Regions from separate parts of the Homo sapiens genome. Here regions 1, 3, 4 and 5 are each linked to region 2. Evidence: promoter capture Hi-C in 16 types of primary human blood cells and fetal thymus (Javierre and others, 2016). All regions are on one chromosome and are shown on one strand. The core of a region is centred on a gene start or on the middle of the fragment in contact, and the rest is flanking DNA. Distances in the headings are between cores, read along the strand shown.

What was found. Contacts are between HindIII fragments. The CHiCAGO score rates a contact against its expected background, and 5 or more counts as called.
Region 1: a contact is called between the fragment with the promoter of LCE4A here and the fragment with the promoter of IVL in region 2, in 5 of 17 cell types (M1 macrophages, naive CD8 T cells, naive CD4 T cells and 2 more). The highest score is 8.6, in M1 macrophages.
Region 3: a contact is called between the fragment with the promoter of LCE2C here and the fragment with the promoter of IVL in region 2, in 16 of 17 cell types (naive CD8 T cells, activated CD4 T cells, total CD4 T cells and 13 more). The highest score is 16.0, in naive CD8 T cells.
Region 4: a contact is called between a fragment that was not itself captured here and the fragment with the promoter of IVL in region 2, in 1 of 17 cell types (M2 macrophages). The highest score is 5.6, in M2 macrophages.
Region 5: a fragment that was not itself captured here is called in contact with the fragment with the promoter of IVL in region 2 in 1 of 17 cell types (naive CD4 T cells); the score reaches 5.1 in naive CD4 T cells.

The regions. Positions count from the first base shown.
Region 1 is chr1:152,706,395-152,709,523 of GRCh38, reverse strand. It overlaps LCE4A (late cornified envelope 4A), which reads right to left and starts at 1,364. Exons shown (of 2, transcript NM_001387222.1): 1 at 1,130-1,364; 2 at 90-469. The coding sequence starts at 448. The coding sequence ends at 149. The HindIII fragment of the contact is 2,492 bases long and covers 852-3,129 here.
Region 2 is chr1:152,906,639-152,909,928 of GRCh38, reverse strand. It overlaps IVL (involucrin), which reads right to left and starts at 1,383. Exons shown (of 2, transcript NM_005547.4): 1 at 1,340-1,383; 2 at 1-150. The coding sequence starts at 131. RefSeq lists silencers at 143-1,343, 1,716-1,768, promoters at 1,389-1,623, 1,343-2,282, 143-3,290, enhancers at 1,503-1,782, 2,701-3,183, 2,616-3,290 and a cis regulatory region at 1,537-2,033. The HindIII fragment of the contact is 6,184 bases long and covers 1-3,290 here.
Region 3 is chr1:152,673,824-152,676,942 of GRCh38, reverse strand. It overlaps LCE2C (late cornified envelope 2C), which reads right to left and starts at 1,664. Exons shown (of 2, transcript NM_178429.5): 1 at 1,615-1,664; 2 at 374-948. The coding sequence starts at 927. The coding sequence ends at 595. The HindIII fragment of the contact is 8,836 bases long and covers 1-3,119 here.
Region 4 is chr1:153,146,967-153,150,065 of GRCh38, reverse strand. SPRR2G (small proline rich protein 2G) reads left to right here. Exons shown (of 2, transcript NM_001014291.4): 2 at 1-484. The coding sequence ends at 177. Among named protein-coding and RNA genes, the nearest start is that of SPRR2G, 2.4 kb to the left of the region's middle. The HindIII fragment of the contact is 4,559 bases long and covers 1-3,099 here.
Region 5 is chr1:153,039,773-153,042,863 of GRCh38, reverse strand. It overlaps SPRR2D (small proline rich protein 2D), which reads left to right and starts at 1,744. Exons shown (of 2, transcript NM_006945.5): 1 at 1,744-1,786; 2 at 2,499-3,091. The coding sequence starts at 2,518. The coding sequence ends at 2,736. The HindIII fragment of the contact is 725 bases long and covers 1,278-2,002 here.

The sequences.
Region 1 (3,129 bases), core at 115-2,614, 200 kb after region 2:
AGGCCTGAAGTTGATGAGACGCAAACCTGCATGTTTATTCAATTGATGGGGCTACAGAAAGGAAAGGCAAGAGAGTGAAGGAGGTAAAACACCAGGCTGCAATGGGTCCTTCGCCCACTAATTCCTTTGGTGCTGCTCCTGGTCCAGGTCAGCAACAGCCCCCTCCAGAGCAGCAGCCAGAACCCCCAGACTGCTGGCCACTGCCACTGCCATAGCAATTGGAGCTCTTGGGTCTGTGGCAGTGGGACCTATGGTGTCTGTGGTGGCTCAGGCAGCAGCCACCTCCCTCAGAGCTGCAGCAACCACAGCCCCCAGAGCTGGAGCCACAGCAGGAAGAGATTGGAGGTGGGCATGAGGATGCACACTTTGAGGGACATTTTGGGGGATACTTGGGGATAGGACACTTGGGAGGGGGCTGGCACTGCTGTTGGTTCTGCTGGCAGGACATCTTGGTGGGATTTCGATAAACCTGAATGACAAAATAGAAACATATACAGAAACTTAATATCAAGAGCCATTACATTTTTTTTTATTTTAAAATCCTCCCCCAAGGTGATGAAGAGGAATATCTAAAATATGGACATGTATAGAAACCTCTTTCAGACAAAGAGTATATCTTCATTACTTTTGTACCCCTAGAGCTTTCAAAAATTCTTAGTATTTGTTAGGTGGTTAATAAGTGACTTCTGAGCTAATAAAGCCAGCAAAATTTGAATGCCATCTCAAAGACATGTTAAATACATTGCAATTCTACCCACATGAATTTATCTAGAAATGGAATTCAGAAATTCGTAGAAAATCTGTTTAATAAATAATAATAAATTTGAGATCTGCACGGTTAGAGAAAAGCTTCCTTCAGAGCAATGGGCTTAGGACCAGCAGGCCAACCATTGGTAGGGATGTAGCAATCCCAGGTCATTCATCATCTTCCTGTCTGATCACAGGGATAATCCTTCCCAGGTTGGTTCCTGCTTTGTCCAGAGCCAACTACTACTTCTGGCCTTCTGGCCTTGTCCACCATGTCATCCTCCTCCTACTCCACGCTTCACTGTTCGACTTCCAGAATTACTCTCCATCTCCATCTTCATCCCGCTAGCGTCCCCCTCTGGATTCCTATAGAAACACTCACCGTGGGTTCAGACGCAGCAACAGATACGTCCCTTAGGAAGCAGAGCAGATGAGAAGCCAGCAGCAGGAACACACTTTGTATGGATCCTGGGGCTGGGCCTCGGATGAGCCATGCTAATGGCAGGAGCAGGACGTGGCTGTTGCACAAGTGTGGGGTCATGCCTGACATTCTCCTGCCTCCTGGTTTCATCTCTTCCTGAGCTGGATGATGAGCTTCCCAGATAGCCTCTTCGGCACTAGTGGGAGAGGGGGTGACTATATGAGACTTTCTGTAAATCAGACCCTTTTCCCAGGCTAAGGTCTCAATGTACAGCAAACAGAGGGGTTTAAGGCTATGGGTACTTACCTTTCAAGCCTCCCTCTGAACACGCTTTGCTCAGTCCCTCAGGAAGAACTTTGGCACCAAAGGCTCCAAGACTGCCCCACATTTAGCCCCTAACATATTCCAGCCAAATTTCAGCCAGAGGCTCTGGGCCTTTCCCAGGTCAGTCAATCCTGAGAGGCTGGTTTGGTGCCATAGGCCTCCTTACTCTTTTAGAGAGTATCTCCCATGCTTTTAGACCAGGCCAAGTCCCCAGTCCTAACTGTGGAGAGAGATGCCCCTCGGTCAGCCACTCTTCTCTTTAGAATTTCTCTTCTATGAACCCTTCAGCCTGGAATTCAAAGGCTATCATATTTGACTACTTCTATTTGGGTTACCAAGGAATGTGTCACCATCAAGGGGCCTTTTGAGTAGGAGTTTCTGAGTTTTTCTGTTGTGTGTTGTGTATGTGATTCTGCTGCATTTAAGTAGCTCATGAGCACAGATCAGAGACTTGAGACTTTTACCAATTCAGGAACCTTTTGTGGAAGTATCTGTCTGTCAACTACACACACACACACACACACAAGTTGCATTTATTGCAACCATTTTTTAAAAAAAGGACTGATTTTTTTTCTTCAACAAACATATAAGAAGATCATTATGAGGAAAATATTTTTCCCATCATAGAAAAAACTCTTCCCTTTTACCCATCAAAACACTCTAAACCAACAAGAAAAAGAAATTTGGTGTGTGTTGCTCTAATTCTCAAAAGGTTTATATAGGATACAACTCTTCATGCAACCCATTAAGATTGATTTATTTCTCCTTATGTATATCATATATGTTATACGTATATACACATATAATCACGAGGTACTTCTGGAAATACCTACTATGCAAAATAGATGTCTAACAATGACAAAAGTTAGCTGATATTAATGAACATGAAGACATTGATAATGATGACAAGGAAGATGACTAAACCCCCAGCCTATATTTCCTCTCTGTAAAGACAGAAATTACCTACTTTTATAGTAATTTCTGCTATTACTAACTCAGAAAATGAGTATTAGACAGCAGGAACGGAATTGTTGTGGAAGGCAGATTTTCTGGCAAGTATTATTGTAGGAATGTCCTCCCATTTTCCATCTCTCTCCCAATCCAGTGCCCCATGTTAATGGTGTTTCTGGCAAGCAAATCATCAGCTATAGAGGGATGTGGTAACAAGCAACAACCTACCACATTGAGCTCTTAATCTGTGACCAGCACTGCCTCAGTTATGTGAGAAATACAATGAATTAACCTTGTTCCTGTCCTCAGGACCTCAGAGTAGAACTGGAGAGAGAAACAGAAACACCTGAGAAGTTAGATAGTGATGCTGAACCTCAACACAAGAGAAACACGGTGTGATTAAAGGAAAATTTCAGGGTTGACACCAGTGGTCCTAGTAGGCAGTCCTAAAACAAAAGATGCCAGGACTCAACTGTAGACAAATTAATTCAGAATTTCTGGGAATAGGGCCCCAGCATTGGTGTTTTTTAAAAGGTCACAAGTTGAATGTGTTGCACAAACAGAGATGAAAGCTATTGGTGTAGCCCTACTCTGCACAATACAGTAGCCACTAACCACATGAGATGATAAAGCCCTTGAAATATAACTTGTCTGAATTGAGATGTGCCATAGCATGACACTGAGTT
Region 2 (3,290 bases), core at 134-2,633:
CATGGGGGAGGCAGTGGAGTTGGCTGTTTCATTTGCTCCTGATGGGTATTGACTGGAGGAGGAACAGTCTTGAGGAGCTCCTGACTGAGGGCAGGGGAGAGGGTCACTGGCAGTGTGTGTTGCTGGGACATCTTAGAAGCTACTGTCAACCTGAAAGACAGAAGAGGTCTGATGCACAGGCTGAAGGCAAAGGAAATAGATGAAACCTTGGGAATCTGCAGAAGTATCTGGTTTTTTAGCATCCCCTCTTCCCTTGGGCAGGGTACTGTTCTACCACCTCTGGACTATCATTTCCCAAAAGCAGCAGAGAGAGAAGGGTGGAAATGTGGAGGGGCAGAGAAAGGTCCTCCTAGGAGCCTCCTTGTTCCCAGGTGAGAGCCAACAAGGAGATCTGTCTGCAGGGCTGTTCTGCAAGGGTGGGTCAGGTGCCAGCTCACTGTCTGCTCTTGTCTAGTCCTTGTGTCCACCCTCATCGCTTCACTGACCAAGGAGCAGAGATGCGTTCTGGGATTATGTCACAGTGAGGAGTAAGGCCTTAGGGAATGAAATGTCTCTTGGAGAACACCAAGTCCTAGAAAACCAATAGGCCGTGCCAGAGAGGACCTAAGAGGTCATGGTGTGACCTCCAGACTGGAGCCACAGGACATGCTCTAGGCCTGAATCTCCCATTGGAATGCTGTGTGTTTCTGGGCATGTCACTTAGTCTCCTGGGATTTGGTTTTCCCCCCTGTAAAGCCAGCAGGTTGGCCTATTCAACCCCAGGGCTGCTTTCTCTCCTGACCTTCTGAGGTTTAGCTGCAGTCCTTGTGTCTGGGGTGGGGCTGCGGGAGCTGGAAGGTTGCTGAGAGTTGGAGGTTGTTCTTCCAAGTCTTATACTTCTAAGTTGAGTTTTCCTGTCCCAGCTCTGCCTAGGTTTCTCCAAATAGAAAGGTTTCCCCATTCTGCCATCCCTCTGTGCAGCATAGCCAAAAGGTAGAAGCTCTTCCCTGAACCTCTCCCTCCATAAAGAAGGCAAAATGATGGTCTGTCAAAACCCAAGAGGTTTAGGAAAGAAGTTGAATGCTATTCCCCTCCTCCCTTCCATAATTCTCTCTCACACACAAATCCAAAAATATGGTCACAAGAAAAGATGGGACATAGGATGATTACTCTCTGTTCTGCACTTCTGTGCCAAGGCACTTTTCTCTCAGTACTCTGACTCGAGTCCCCCTAGAATGAAAGTCCAGCTGAATCCAGCCCCAGAGTAATGCCCACCCCCACCCAGGCTGCCCACCCCCACCACATCGTATGCTGTTGGAGGTCCCGAGTCCCAACCCTGGTTCTACCATCCGACACTTACCAGACTCACAGTAAGGCTGAGGCAGAGGCTTTGGTGGAGTGCTGAGCTGAGCAGGAGTCAGGGCACTCTTTATATCATTCTGCAGCCTGGCCTCCCTCCAGGTTGAAGGTGATGGACAGGTTTCACCACTCTAGTTGGTCAACTTCCTCTAACCCCTTCCTGACTCACCACAGGCATCTTAAGCAGCAAACCCTTTAGGGCCCCATTTCCCAGGGACACACAGCTCCTGCCTGGCCAGAGGATTCTGGTAGCTCAACTATTCCTGTGATGCTTTTCTGACCTAGGCACAGGGAGCTGAGTGAGGCATCCTACTGTTTTGTGACCTTAGTCAAACTTCTGCTCTGAATCTCAATTTTTCCACTTTCAAAATGAGTTTGTTCTCATTATTAGGCCAAAAGATTCACTTTCAAGGGCATGAAATGGAAAGTTATGTGTCTTTCGGGGATGTCCAGGCTGGGTTATATGTTTGAAGATAGAGTCACTTCCCATGAAGGGGTGGTATTTCTGGGGTGTTCTCTTGGGCCACAAGCCCTTCCTCTCTCAGAATATATTTTTTAACTCCATCCTATGTGGAAATAAACTCTGTCTTTGGTGGAGGGAGTTTGACTTTAGGCCAAGTAGAGTCAAGTAGAAGGCTTCTAGGAGTCCTCTGCTGCTGCCACTTGCTGCCCAGCCTCTATGCCCGAGGCTGCAGTTAGAGAAGTTCTCAGGAATGCCATGCTCATAAGAACTCCAAAGCACGGCCCACTCTAGGCAAGGAAACAAGATTGAATCTACACAATATAAAAATAAGTATTGCTTTTTATAATGACAAACCAAACTACTTTCTTAAGTACTTTTTTAAATGCATGAAGGTATAAAGATCAGAATCAAATCATCCATTTCCTGTTGTAAATCATACTCTAGAAATAGCTTAAGAAATCTTTCAGAGTGGGGATTTGAGCACATCTCTCCCCCGTGCCAACAGTGCACCAGCACACTTGAAATAACATTCAAACTCACTGCCGTGGTTTAAAAGACCCTGGGTACCTGGCTTCTGCCTTCTTCTGGGGCCCCAATTCATGTCAATCTCTCCCTGAGAGGTATATTCTTACCTCACTGAGGGCCTTCGGTTCCTGAGATGAGCCCAGAGCTCTCCACCTGGGGGCTTGGCACCTGCTCTCCTTCTGCCCACCGGCCCCTCCCCAGGTCTCTGGTTCTTTTATGCCTTTCAGCTTCAGTGTCAATGTTGGGGTCTGTCAGAGATCCTTCTCTGTGTACCATATCTAAAGGATTGGTACTTAATTTCACTTATAACAATCTAGAGTAATTTATTTGCATTTGTTCACTTGCTTATTGTCTATCTTTCCCACTGGAAAATAAGCTAAGAGCAGCGTATACCTGGTATGTTTTCCACTATACCCCTAGAACCTATCAAAACTACTGCATATAATATGTGCTCTACAAGTATTCATTGAAGAACAGTGAATTTTACGACCCGAAAATAATGACTATTAAACATTTCAGTGTTGATCAATGTTTATATGTGTGTGTCTGTATGTGTGTGTAAAAACCAAACTGATTTATTTCTTCCCTTTCTTTTTAATGGTTGGCTAATAACTTATTATATGGACATCATTCATTTACACTCTCTTTTTTACAATCTAATCCAAAAAGAAGGAATTATAAAGACAATACTCAGTGGGGCTAATTTTGAGAAGTGTCCTGATTCCCCATAGTTTTCCTGACAGGCACATTTCTCTTAGCCCCAAGTAAATCTATTTAAAGCACTAATTTTGTCATGTTCCTGGATCATGCCTAAAAAGACAGAGGGAGGACTCACAAGGCACCCTTGGTTTCTGCAGTGCTATCCCCTCCTCATGACCTCTCTGTTCCCTGAGCCCACCCAGGGACCTCACATTCTTTTTCCCATAGAACAGGGACTGTGCCATTTTCTGGGGCAGAGGAAGCA
Region 3 (3,119 bases), core at 415-2,914, 230 kb after region 2:
AACATCTGTTTCAAGCATTTTATCCAACTATTGATTCTAAGGGCAGGAAAGTTTTGCTTCATAGGGATGTGTTCTTCTCCCTAGAGAAGAACAAGTCTGCAGAGCTTCCCAACCTTCCCAACGTCTGGATTACACAGAAAATTAGAACATGTGTCTGGCTTAGTGGAGAGAAAGGCAAAGCTACCATAGCCAGAGGTGACCCTCTTGGAGCTCCATTCACTCAGCATCTGGGGGAATCAGTTCCTCAGAGCAGCTTTTCATGTATCACCTACTCATGTCCTGTCCTAGCCTCATGAAGAAAATTACTCTGAGGCCCTGACCTTTGGAGGACATTTGAAATCTCAGAAGAGAAGAGAATGACCAAGACATTTAGTGAGTCAGAGATCAGAGCTTTATTATAACATGAGGTAAAGGAGGAAAAGAAGACTTGCAATTGGGGTGTTACATCAAGCACGAAGTTCTTCCAGGAAAGCCCCATGAGTCTTTGTGGTCTCTGCCAACCAATGAATGGAATGAGAGGAAGTGGAAAGAGTATCCATCAGGCCGTAGCAGGTTCTTGGCCATTCAGTCCCAAGAGCTCTTCTGTAGCCCAGGTCAGCAGCAGCCCCCAGAGCTGTGGCAGCAGCCAGAGCCCCCAGAAGGTTCACTCTCACAGCAGTCGGGGCTCTGGTGCCGGCGCCGGTGGAAGAGACGGGGCCTGTGGTGGCTCAGGGAGCAGCCACCAGCCCCAGAGCTGCAGCAGCCCCCAGAGCTGGGACCACAGCAGCTCCCAGAGCTGGGACCACAGCAAGAAGAGACTGCAGGGAAACATGGAGCTGGGCACTGTGGTGGGCATTTGGGGGGACACTTAGGTGGACATTTTGGGGTACACTTGGGAGGACACTTGGGAGGGGGCTGGCACTGCTGCTGGTTTTGCTGGCAAGACATGCTGGCAGGAGTTTAGTCAACCTGAAAGATAATAATGAAACTCTTTAAATATTTCAAACCAAGGATCATATTATACCTCTTCTAAAATCAATGCATGTGTAGAAGAAGAATGATATTTAGATAATACAATCACATCAGTAACCTGAAAGAAACAACTTGAATCTTTCCTCTAGATAAAAGTACGTAGATAAAAAATCAACAGAATGAGCTTCTTACTCTTCCTTTCAGGGGAAACTGCGATTGCTCTATCCTCACAAGCCCGAATAGAGTATTCACAGCTCCCTGAAGTACCTATTCCTTTAATACAAGCCCTAAGGACAAGCTGGGTGTTGCAGGACATACCAAGGGGTCCTCTGGAAAATATTTTGCAATGAAACCTCCAGATAAAAGAGCCTGGCTTGAAGTATTTGCCAGTTTCCATGGTGTAAATATGCCCAACACAGCAGTTTTGAAGTTACCAACATGAAGTCACTGAACACAGAATTGGAAAAGATGTGCACAGTTAGCTTTCCCCACCTATATGAGCTCCGGTAGGCCTCAGAGCCTCAACAGATTCGAGGCAGGCTGAGTCCCATTCCTGCTCAGTATGGCAGAACACAAGCACACAACTCTTTCTCCAGCCTACCTCCATCCTCCCCATCCCTCTGCCTTGCTCATACCCCTCTGGTATCCCAGGTTGCCACTCACCCTGGTCACACGCAGGAGCACAGACACGTCCCTGGGGAGTCAGAGCAGATGAGATGCTGAAGCTGGATGTGTCTTTTATAGGGCCCAGGCTTGGCTCTGGAAAGAGCAGGAGGTGGCTCTTGCACAACCAGGCACACGCTGGGTCATTCCTGACATTCTCCTGCCTCTTAGTCCCTGCAATCCAAAGAGGCCTCAGGAGCTTCCAGGACTCCTCTCTGGGGCTGCAGTCTAGAGAGGCTGTAGCCAGTCAGAGCCTCCACCAGGTGGGAACCCTAAAGAGTTAACTTAGGGTACCCAAGGGACCCACACCTGGACAAGATTCTGTTCCCTGCATTTTTTTAATGCATGTCCTCTGAGGAAACATCAGTTCTGAGCCACAGCTTTCCCTGACCTTGTGGAAATGTTCCATTATGACTCCCTCCACCCTGAGCAGTTTCTCTTCCATGTCCTGCTGTGGATCCAGCCATCCCAGAGGGCTTCTACAGCCTTGGCTTTTTCTAGGCATCCCTCCCTTGCCTAGGCTCTCAGCCCTTCCTCCTGGCCTCTGTGTTTCTGCTTTTCCTCCGACTCACCATGGCAAGCAGATTCGGTGGATTAAATCTGAGTTGATTCTGTCACCTAAAGCAAGGAGAATGATTGAGAATAAACAATTCCCTCTAAAATCTAAACATTTCCTTCAGTCAGAGGACTTGTATTGAATGTGCTACTGGAATCAGAAAACTTGCATATGATAACTGGGTAATCTCTGAAAGTTGCTGTAACAATTATCAATAATTGCTAGAGTATTACTATGATACTCACTGTGAGTATCAGTTCTCACATATAATGCCCATTATAAACCTATCAGTGAGATATACCTATCTCACTGAGCTGTTTGTAATATAAAGTGAGAAGCAAGAAAGAGCTAAGTATGACATTTTGTGCCTGATAGACCCTTAATAAATATATGTTTAATAGAAAAACTAATGCCATGTATTGGATACTTGCCCCGGTCTTATGTGTCATTAATTGCCCATATAGAGCCCTTACCCTCAGAGAGCTTAACTCCACCAGACACTTAGATTATTTGAAACCTGTCTTGGGAAGTAGACATCATTTCTTGGGGCTCCTATGCAGAGGGAACTCCTTTCCTACCAGGAAGTAGAGGGTCAGCCAGGAATCTAGTTATTCAGAGTTCTGATTCAGGGTTGCACTAGACAGAGTTACCCAGTCATTTATTCATTTAGTTTAAACAGATACATTGAGTGTGAACCTTGAAAACATTACACTACGTGAAAGAAGCCAGTCACAAAAGACTGCATATTGTATGATGTTATTTATATGAAATGTGTAGAGTAGGCAAATCTCTGGAAATAGAAAGGGGATGAGGCTTTAGCCAGTTACAGCCTCTCCCAGGCTGGACCCCTGAAGAGCTGACTCAGGGCATCCGAGGAACAAGAGCCTGGATGAGATTCTGTTCCCTGTATCTCCTTTTATGTTTATGCCTGTCCTCTGAGAAATATCAG
Region 4 (3,099 bases), core at 267-2,766, 240 kb before region 2:
CCTGTGTGCCCCACGCCAAAGTGCCCAGAGCCATGTCCACCCCCGAAGTGCCCTGAGCCTTACCTGCCTCCTCCTTGTCCACCTGAGCATTGCCCACCTCCACCATGCCAGGATAAATGCCCTCCTGTGCAACCATACCCACCCTGCCAGCAGAAGTATCCACCCAAGAGCAAGTAACATCACTAGAATTCATCAGGACCATGAAACAACAAGATCCAGTGGCTCTTCTTACTCCCAGGACTCCATCATCTTCCCTTCAGCTGTAGTGGGAGGCTGCATCTTCCCTAACCTCTGTCTGGCTTGAGCGTTGACAGAGAAAAGGCTTAGTTCTGAAAACCGATATGTTGTTGGAAGATGAGCAGCCAGATCACTGCCTAATCTCGCTTTGCTGTCTGTGATGTAGATGGTGGTTCCTATCCTGAGAGCAAGTGTGTTTATTCTTTTGCTTCTCCCCAATAAAGCACATGTTTCATGGTCAAGCCCACATTGCTTTTGTTTGCATTTCGTGTCTTTAACCTCTTCTGTTAACTACACCAAGTGAATGTTCCTTTTCATTCCTATTGAATTATTAGAATTATTAGGCTTTTCCATCACTGAATTCAGTGTTGCGTGCAATGTGTGTTTTGGATTCGGTACAACAAATAATTCTCTTTTATTGGTTTAAAACTCATTTTTACCCCTTCTAGCTTGTATGGCTGAAAAAATTACCTAAACTCTCTTAGCTTCAGTTTCATCATCTGTAAAAAGTAAGAGAGCATGTATTCAGCTGAGTGTACTCATAGCAATTGATTTATTCACAAATGTTTCCTAATTGTCTATCATGTGCCAGCCAGTCTTCTATGCACTGCTGATAGGGATAATGATGACCAAACAAAGTCCTTGCTCTTATAGAGTCTACAGTCTTAAGAGAGTTACATATCACCCCCACCCCCCGACCCCCACACACCTCCCACACACAGGACAAATTATAGTAATACATGGGCTATATTTAAAGAAAATTATTTAGAAAGACCCTTTGAAGTGACTTTTGGCTCAAAGACATGAATGAATAGAAGAGGGAGCCATGGGTATATCAGGGGTAGATTGTTCCTGTTGGAAGAAATGGCCAGTGCTAAAGAAATACAAAATAACATTAGCCGGGCGTGGTGGTGGGCGCCTGTAGTCCCAGCTACTCGGGAGGCTGAGGCAGGAGAATGGCGTGAATCCGAGAGGCGGGCTTGCAGTGAGCCGAGATCGTGCCACTGGACTCCAGCATGGGCGACAGAGCGAGACTCTGTCTCAAAAAAAAAAAAAAAAAAAAAAAAAAAAGAAATACAAAATAACAAAAAGGAAAATGGTGGTCAAGGAGAAATGTCTGCAAATGAGGTCAGAGAGGTTGGATCTCTAGGATACAGTCATGATTTCGATATATACTTGAAGTTTGACAGCCATCTTAGGATGGTCAAAGTCTTGAAATTTTATTGTACATAACTCAACAATTGTATATAATTACTTTTGCATAGCATTTCAACCAGAAGTACATAGGGTATTTCAAACATATTTTTTTAAAAGTTGAAAAGAACTGAGGAATTAATTAAAACTCTTTTGCTAAGAGGGACTGCCCAAATGAAAAGTAGGTCTACCTGTTTTCACATCTTAAAGGGAAATATATTTGATTAGTTTCATCAAATTGCAGCTAGCAGAATGCTTAGGGAATTTTGTTCTTGCTGTGCTCCAAGCCCCAACAGGAATGTTAGAAGGTAAAGTTTACACAAGGCAATACAGAATAACTCCAAGTTATTGTCTTAACAGTAAGCTGTTGAATAAAGCTCTGGCTTAATGTTGTTGACAGTTCCTCCTAACCCCCAGGCCACATTTTGTCTTTAAGAAAAACAAAAATAAAAAATCCTTTATTTTAGGCGAAATATAATCAACACATTCGGAAAGTTCATAAACTTTAGCTGTACAGGGCGAATAATTACAAGCTGAGCACTCATGCAACCAATGCCAAATTGAAGAAAAATGACATTACCAAACTTTCTAAAGACTCCACATTGCCTTATTCAATAACACTCTATACTTTCATCACTGGAAGTAAACACTCTGCTGACATTTAACATAATTACTTTCTTGCTTTTTATTTTATTTTTTAACCATTAATATAGAGGGATCTATATTAATAGATATAGTTAAGTTTTCCAGTTTTTGAATTGCATATAAATGGAACCATACAGTATGTCATTTTTTTGCCTGTCTCCTTTCAACCATCATTGTGTAATTTTTGCTTATTCATGATTGCATTTTAGCATATCATTGTATAAATACACAACACTTTTGTATCCTTATTTATTCTACTCTTGGTTGACATCGGGTTGTTCCCTATTTGGTATTGTTATGAATAGTGCCATCATGATGTTTTCTTCCTGCCTGTGGGTGCACAAGCTCACACATTTCTCTAGGATATACACCCAGAAGTATGTGCATCTTCAACTTTGGTAGGTGATGCCAAACTGTTTTCTAAAATGCTGTCCCAATTTAAATGCCTAGAGCTGTGTAGTAGATTTTATGCTTCCTTTCCCTCCTTCAGCTAATCAATCAATGTCACCCTTCATAGTTTACCTATCTGGTATGGGCATAATTATCTTTTATTGTACTTTGAATATGCATTTTATTAAATATTAATGTCTTTTAGAAGTTTTAAAAAATATGTTTATTAATCATTTTGACATACATTCTTGTGAAGTGCCTGCTAAAGGCTTTTACCCATTTCTATTGAGCTGTTTTTTTCTGACTACTTTTTATGAATTTTTAGTATATTTTGGATACTTAGCTTTAATGGTAATTTGCCTAACCCACTGTAACTAAGATTTTCTCCTGTTTTCCTCCAGAATTGCAGAATGTTTTATTTTTTATCTTAGTGATATATTTTGAATTAATTTTTGTATATGTGAAGTAAGAATCAAGATTCACTATTTCCCATATTAATATCCAATTGCTTGAGTACCATTTGCTGACAAGTTTCTTTTTTTTGCCCATTAAATTACCCTGACACCTTCATTGAAAACCAACTAACTATATAGATATAGATACATATCCATGTGGGTCTATTTTTGGACTTTA
Region 5 (3,091 bases), core at 391-2,890, 130 kb before region 2:
TTGGGGAGTAGTGGGTGATTTATTGAGTAAAGGACTTTTACTTTGGCTGGTGAAGTGCGTGGCATGTGTAATAGTCTATAGGAAGCATTTGGTGAGAACACCATTTGTAATCACCTGGCCTCAGGGTGCTGACATGATGGCTCTATTTCTGTAGTGTCCTGGCCAGTGGTGATCTTGGCTAAAAGCTCTTCCTTACTGACAGGAGCAACAGCTGTTCTGGGAACCTAACCTACTTAACTGAGGGATGTGATGCTGGCTTGATTCAACACTCTGCCCTTCCTGGAGCACAGTTGGTGACTGCTCCAGTGATTTTGAGTCTTTCCTCTTCCTCATTCTCCTTTCTTCTTATTCACTTATAAAACCATGTTCTTGGGAAGCTTCCCGATTAATGGTCCAGATAAGGAAGCAGTAGCAACATCACTTTAAATGTTTAATATACAGTACTTAGAAAGGCTCACTGATTGTAGGAAGCATTTAAAAAAGTTGTGAAAGGACAATCACTAAATGCATTGACAACATATGTGTTAAGTGAACAATATGTACCAAAATGGACAGATGACAGGTATACATTGGGTATGAGTTGATAATCTAGCAGTTTGTGGGACTAGAAGGTTTATGGAAAAGACAAAGGAAGAACATGCAAACAAATTAAAAAACACTGAGAAACATCTAAAACCTGTTTGGAAATAGAGAGGAAGAATACATATTGGATTACCCTTTGTTTGTATTTTCCCCTTGAGTTAAACTTTAAGTGCTCTTACCTTCCTCACTCTGCACACCTACTTCTAATTATTTACATATGATAATGTCTATGCAGCTTGTTCTCTATAGGATGTTCACAGGGAACCATATATGCATGGTTCCATACATAGATTTTGAGTCAATACTTGTAACTTTAGTTTCCTTCTCTCCATTACTTTTTATAAATAAAAAGGCTGTAGTACACATCCTTGATGGCACCAAGTAGCAAACGTGCTGTGGAGACTAGATCTCACTCTCAAATCTGTCCTGGGATGCAAGTGCCTCTACGAATGTGGTGCAGAAGCTACAAATGTGGTGCAGAAGACAGCTTCAAAGAGGAAAGGAATATAGGTAAAAATCTGAGGTTTTATCTGAGAAAAAGGTGGCAAAGAAAATTTCAGTCTTGAACAGGGTCAGCAGATAGCACAATGTGGTCAGCCTGCAAACCCAGAGGTAAGTATTATTGTCCCCTGTTTATAATCCCAGGGAGGAGAGGTGACATGCCTGTTGTCATGGAACTTAGCAAAGAAAAAGCTTAGCTCAGGCCTTTGTTAAGTCTCTCCTTCCTTCTAGCACATTGGCCAACTGTATGAGGAAAGTAGAGGTAGAGTTGGGTTCATGTACAACAATATGGCATTCAGCTAGAGTGGATCAGGACAGGAAGTTTTATGACTCAGGGGAGGTAAGATAGGAAGGGATCATTGTTCCCAATCAAGAAAGAGAGCCCTTGACAACCGGTTAGAGAATCCCTCCAATTATCTCTCTGACGAAAGTCACTGAAACTGAGATCTAAGGCAGGTTCTCTGTGACTCATGAGCACTTAACCCAGTGGGGAGATCCCAGAACAGGATATTTCCTAGTTTGAGAATGCCTCTCATGCCAGATATGGATACATTTGCATTTTACTTTGGACATTGCTGGACCAGCCCAGTTTTAGGCAGTTCCACTTCCCACTGGGTGGGGCAGAACGTCCTATAAAGAGGTTCCCTGCTGCACAACTCTTAAACTCCTGGTACTCTAGCACCGATCTGCTTTGGAGAACCTGGTGAGTGTGAGTCCTTGAGTTCCTCAGTTCTTTGTGACCTGAAATATTGAATTTAATCTGAAAACAGCAAGTTTGGTTGATACAATTCTGTAACCATGGGTTTGATTCTACTTAGTAGATGGAAATTTAGATTTAGAGTACAGTGATATGCTATTTTAGCTTGTTTCTTGTATACAGTTAGGTGTCCATACGGACAGAGAAGTTAATAGGAAAGCTTTGAATTGAAGAAGAAAAAAGAACAAAGTATTTTTTCCCCATGTTTTCCTGGTGTCTTTTTCAAAGGTTTGTGTCTTAACAGGTGCCAAGAGCCTGCAATCCTTCCCAAACAGCCCTTTGTTCTGTGCTCAAGTCAACCCACTGGGACTTTACTACAGATAATGATAAGAGAAATGGCTTGTGAGATTGCTCATGGTATCTGAACTTGTCACTGCCTTTCCTAAAGATGTTATTTTCACAGAAATAACATGCTTGGTTCATTACTACAGAGATATTTTCTTTGGAAAAATTGTATGAGAAAACACAAGATTTCCCAGGGCCAATGAAGCAATTTGCTAAAGTGGAAGGGAGAAACGAAGTAGTCTTGAAAAGGCAGTTAAGAGTTTAAATAATTTCTTGGAGATGGGGAAATAATATTTCATGGTATTACATAAGCATTAGCTTCTCTCTCTGGAGGAGTCCCTTCCCACAAACACTGTTGTATCATTTCTTTCAGATCCTGAGACTCCAGCAGGATGTCTTATCAACAGCAGCAGTGCAAGCAGCCCTGCCAGCCACCTCCTGTGTGCCCCACGCCAAAGTGCCCAGAGCCATGTCCACCCCCGAAGTGCCCTGAGCCCTGCCCATCACCAAAGTGTCCACAGCCCTGCCCACCTCAGCAGTGCCAGCAGAAATATCCTCCTGTGACACCTTCCCCACCCTGCCAGCCAAAGTGTCCACCCAAGAGCAAGTAACAGCTTCAGGATTCATCAGGAGCATGAGAGGATAAGGATAATTGGCTCACCTCGTTCCACAGCTCCACTTGCATCTTCTCACCAAAGCCTTCCATGGATGCACAGGGAGCTTCTTTCTCCTTAACCTGTGGCCTGCCTGTGATGATCTGTGACAGCAAAAGATTCCCTTTCTGAGGCTGCCATACTGCCACTGTCCAGGTGGAGCTAAGAAAAGGAAGTCCTCAGCTGTGCCAGCTCCCAGAGCTTCGGAAGAAAGAGCAGCAGCTCTCTCCCTGGGAACCATCAGACAATTCTGTTGATGTGTTCTGTGTCTGTCTGTCACCTGGTCATGAGCTTCTACCACCTTTGCAATTGT